Linked DNA regions of Homo sapiens: region 2 is linked to region 1. The links are contacts of gene promoters, found by promoter capture Hi-C in human tissues and cell types (Jung and others, 2019). All regions are on one chromosome and are shown on one strand. The core of a region is centred on a gene start or on the middle of the fragment in contact, and the rest is flanking DNA. Distances in the headings are between cores, read along the strand shown.

Region 1 (2,633 bases), core at 53-2,552:
TGTGGTCCCTTTGTGAGCGCTTGCGCCCTTAGAAAAGTATGGCTTGAAACAGGGTTTCTCTTATCTTTTACAAGCCTTTTTCCTCAAGCATTTGAATTCTGGTAATGTTCAAAATACTGTTAAAAAATTATTCTGACAGTATGCAAGTGATGGGCCTGACAAAAAAATTATGGGACACTTCTTAAAATGGTAAGGAAGACTTTGTTCATGACTACTGCAATAGGTATCACAACTATTGCAATACAGCCTGGCATGGTGGCTCACATCTGTAATCCCAGCACTTTGGGAGGCAGAGGCAGGAAGACTGCTTGAGCCCAGAAGTTTAAGAGCAGCCTGGGCAACACAGGGAGACCTACTCTCCACAAAAAATAAAAATAAATTAGCCGGGAGTGGTGATGCACGCCTGGAGTCCTGGGTACTCTGGAGGCTGAGGTGGGCCGATCTCTTGGGCCCAGGAGTTTGAGGCTGCAGTGAGCCATGATAGCGCCACTGCACTCCAGCCTGGTGACAGAGCAATACCTTTTCTCATAAAACAAAGACTATGGCAATAGGGGTGAGTGATGGGTCTCAACTCTGAATACAGCAGGGAATTTATAGTAAATGATCAGAGTGAATGGATCAATGGGTGGAAGATTACCAAGAGTAGACATGAAGGGTAGGGGTATTCTTGCTAAAGCCAATTTAACAGGATTTTTGCTGGTGGCAGAGTGATCAGATATCAAGAGTGGGGTTGAGGAATTCGATCGGATATTGAGGGTGATTCGATATTAAGGGTGGGGGAGTTCTTACTAAACTGACTTAACTGCATTCTTACCACAAATGGACTAGGCAGGTCAAAGACGACCCAAGGAGGAGACCCAGTCAAAAACAGCTCAGAGGAGCCTCCTGACTAAAGTTTGGTCAAGGAGAGAGTCTTTGTCAATACCCAGCTGGTTCTCCCTTTGTACCACCATGTGGCGCCCTTCACCCCATTCCTTCAGCCCTTAAGGCTCTTTTAAAACAAAATAATCAAATTCAAGTTACGGAAATTCTAGGAGGGGCGGTCCCTCCCCCTTCCTAGTTGCGGAAGGCAACGGACTACAAGTCCCCTACGCTCTCGCGGGGCTATGATCCGCCCGGCCCTCCCCACATTCCGGAGTTTCGCGCCTGCGCAGAAGGCAGAAGGTCCTGCGCTGAGAGAAGGGGGCGGAGACAGGACTACGCGCCTGGAGTAGGAGAAGGAGGAAAAAAGAGACCATAGACTTCCATCCTGGCCTAGAGCGGCCCTTAAAGTGCCAGGGAGAGGAGGGCGGGTGGGGACCACTCCAGAATTGGCCGCTGGCGGTATCATGGCGACCCGGAACCCCCCTCCCCAAGGTGAGCGGCCAGGGCCCGAAGTGGTATCTGGGACGCGGCTCACAGCTCTCGACCTTGCTCCTATGGCACCTCTTCCTTCCCCTGCCCTAGGATTCTTCGAGCTCCATTTTTTTTTTAAGGCAGCCCCTTCGAGCACCCCCTCCGAGCTAGACTTTTTCCTCCCCTCTCTGCGGAACTCAAGCGGAGAGCCACCCCCACCCCCAGCACAGCCCTACCTGCCTCCTGCCTTACCTTCACCTCCGGCCCTTCATCTCCCATCTTCAAATGTATTATTTTCTTTTTTTAAACGTCTGGACTCAAGTGATTTCGCTGAGCTCCAGACTAGTTCTCTCAGGAGGACCCCTCCCCACCCCCATTCCTCCCACTGATGAAAATGGACCCTGCTCTGACCTTGACCCTACTAAGGTTTGGAGGTGGGGGTGACCCCTCACTACTGTGTCATTCTGAGTTGGCCCTGGCTTCGTGACCCCAGGCTGGTCCCCGGGCCTTTGGGAAAGCAGATGGGGGTCATTGTTGCAGGGTCCTTTACTCTTGAGGCCCTGGTCTCAAGAATTGAGTTAAATAAAGTCAGTAGTTTCTATGTGGGCATTTTTAGCTGTAGGCCAGAACTAATGAGTTGTAACAGATTTTTAAAAAGATGTATAGAACATTTCTGACTTTTGATTGACTCTACATTTATTTTTTGCATTTTGCTATTTTGAAGACTATGAAAGTGATGACGACTCTTATGAAGTGTTGGATTTAACTGAGTATGCAAGAAGACACCAGTGGTGGAATCGAGTGTTTGGCCACAGTTCGGGACCTATGGTAGAAAAATACTCAGTAGCTACCCAGATTGTAATGGGTGGCGTTACTGGCTGGTGAGAACAACGTCTTTTTCATTAAATTTCATTTGGGGGCCTGACACTGCTGTCCTTTCATACATGGGCAAGAATCACCGTGCACAGGCAGTAGGTCTACACTGTTAATTCCAGAAGAGGCTTTTCTCTGAGTTAAAATTGATGTAATCTACATTCCCAGGCTCCCTGTTGAGTTTTGGCGATCCCCTCCCCCATGCCCACCACTGTTCCTCTTCTCCCTCCTCATCCTTCTTTTGATTCTTTATATAATTTCCCCATTCTCATGTTCAGCAAATGTCGTGGATCTGATTCAGTGATAGTAGATAGGAAGAAATATATGAGTTAATTATATGTAAATTTTTACATTTCATTCAGTGCTAACTGCTGAAAAAACCTAAGAAACTCCCACGGTAGAACTGGCCTCTAGTATTGTCAGCC
Region 2 (2,633 bases), core at 38-2,537, 160 kb after region 1:
AGGTACATGTCACTGTGCTTGGCTAATTTTTAAATTTTTTTATTATGTAGAGACAAGGTCTCACTATGTTGTCCAGGCTGGTCTTGAACTGGGCTCAAGTGATCTTCCTGCCTCAGCTTTCCAAGGTGCTGGGATTATCAGCATAAGCCACGGTGCCGGGCCTCTCTGTTTTGAATACAGCTTAAAATGCGGACTTAAATTACGAATAAGTAATTCTTAGTCACAACAGGTCAGGCCCACATAATCCCCCACTGGGATTAGCCAGCATCTTCCCAAATGGACTCAATGTCTTCCATTCCAACCCCCTTTAGTGTGTCCCAAGAGATATTTCTTCCTAACATAAACCTCAACACATCTCTTTCTTGCTTAAAATTCTTCCGGGATTAAACATTGCCTACAGGACAATATCAAAATTCGCAAGCATAGTTTCCAAGTCCCTACACAATCTGGCCTCTGACAATGTTTTCAGTTTTACCTCCTGCCACTTGCCCTACCCTTTGGCAAGCTAAGTTAGTGACAATTCCTTGAATATGCCATTTGTTTTCATTCTTTGGGTCGCTGTACATGTGGAATATTGGGGTTTCTCTGATGAATTCCTACTTATCTTTCTAAACTGAATTCATGTATCTGAAACCTTTTCTGATCCACTTAAACTCTATCTCCTCTACTTACTCCATGTCCTGTATACCTGGTGCTTTAGACATTTGTGTTTTTTTAACCTGTTTTATTTTTATTTTGTTGTTGTTGTTGTTTTGTTTTGTTTTGAGACGGAGTCTCACTCTGTCGCCCAGGCTGGAGTCTAATGGTGCGATCTTGGCTCATTGCAACCTCTGCCTCCTGGGTTCAAGCCATACTCCTGCTTCAGCCTCCTGAGTAGCTGGGATTACAGGCTCTCGCAGCCACTCCCAGCTAATTTTTTTATATTTTTAGTAGAGACAGGGTTTCACCATGTTGGCCAGGCTGGTCTCGAACTCCTGACCTCAGGTGATCCACCCACCTCGGCCTCCCAAAGTGCTGGGATTACAGGTGTGAGCCACTGTGCCCAGCCTTTTTAACCTGTTTAATTGTCCTATTAGACTTTTAACTCCTTGAGCACAGTGACTTTGTTTTCTTTAATATTTGTATCTCCAATACCCAGAAGGCATATGATAGACATTAAATAAATGTTTAGTCCACGAATAAATAAAAAATGAATACATAGTCAATTTAAATAAATTTGGGGAAGATAAGGATTTGAAGAAGAGCATGTGCAAGAGAGTCATTATTTGAAATAATCTCCCAGGAGTAAAAGTTGAAGGCCATTGATCTGCAAGATTTGGGCACCAGATGATATAGAAGAATTCTCAGGAAGTAAGAGCCTTATTTGAATAAGATGTGATTATGATTGATTTCAAATATTTCTTTGCCTTGGAAGCTTTGACTTTGCTTTATATAGGATTGTATGTTACAGACACATCAACTACACAGCAAAGAAAAAAAGAGGTAAAAATCAGACCCATACGCAAACTCAGTACTAAAAATGTAGTTGCAATTCCACACACAACAGATGAGGTGTGGACTTAAAAAAAAAAAGTGACTGAAGTGAAGAAGAAATGTTGCCCAGAGGTGTATTTTTATTTTTGTTATTTTACTAAGTACCTGCATATAAAAATTGATATTAAAAGCAGCTGAAGCAAATTCTAATGGGTGGGGAATGATTTTAAAACAGAAACAGTGGGCCACTGCACTTTCTTGTAATTACTCATCTGGGTAAGGGCTTCAAAATGTATTAGCCATAAAGGAAAGACTTCAGACAGACATCTGCAACCCAAAATGCTTAGGCTGTTTCAATTATGATGACTATTTTAAGTATTCACTCACTCACTCTCTCTCTCCCTTTTTTTTTTTTTTTTTTTTTGAGATGGAGTCTTGCTCTGTCACCCAGGCTGGAGTGTGGTGGCGTGATCTCACCTCACTGCAACCTTCACCTCCCAGGATCAGTCGCTTCTCCTGCCTCAGCCTCCCAAGTAGCTGGGATTACAGGCACCCGCCATCACACCTGGCTAATTTTTTCCTTTATATTTTTAGTAGAGATGGGGTTTCACCATGTTGGCGAGGGTGGTCTCGAACTCCTGACCTCAAATGATCCACCCACCTTGGCCTCCCAAAGTGCTGGGATTACACCGTTTCCGATCCTTCTTTCTCTCTCTCTCTCTCTCTCTCTCTCTCACACACACACACACACACACACACCCTCAAGGCCCAAATATATGTTGATTCATTTTACTAAAAGGCCTTTGCTTTAGATCTTAAGAGATGGGAATAATGACACAAGCCACGAGGAGAGAAAAAAAAGCACCCATGAGATAAACTGTTACCTCAGTGCAGTAAAGAGTTAACATAGAGTCCTAACTGCTTATCCTTAGAAAGGCTTGCTCACAAGGTTGGCTCTTAGCTGGTATCCCAGAACTTGAATTTCAGGAGGGTTCCCACCATTTCTAGAATTGGTAAGAGTGGCTCACTGTGCCTAAACTTCATGCAAGCAATGCGGTTTATGCTGAACATCTATCTGCTTTCCTTCTGGGAGTCTGGAATTTGGGTACCTGCCAGGCAAGGGGTACTTCCATGACCAGCCCCCCAGGAAAAGCCCTGGG

The links. Contacts are between HindIII fragments. The study calls those that stand out against the background at their distance.
Region 2: a fragment that was not itself captured here is called in contact with the fragment with the promoter of FUNDC1 in region 1 in 1 of the 25 tissues and cell types used here (stomach).

Annotation. Positions count from the first base shown.
Region 1 is chrX:44,541,528-44,544,160 of GRCh38, reverse strand. FUNDC1 (FUN14 domain containing 1) reads left to right here and starts at 1,302. Exons shown (of 5, transcript NM_173794.4): 1 at 1,302-1,356; 2 at 2,060-2,216. The coding sequence starts at 1,329. RefSeq lists enhancers at 918-977, 988-1,037, 1,218-1,607. The HindIII fragment of the contact is 19,174 bases long and covers 1-2,633 here.
Region 2 is chrX:44,378,489-44,381,121 of GRCh38, reverse strand. No RefSeq gene overlaps it. Among named protein-coding and RNA genes, the nearest start is that of EFHC2, 36 kb to the right of the region's middle. The HindIII fragment of the contact is 3,616 bases long and covers 1-2,633 here.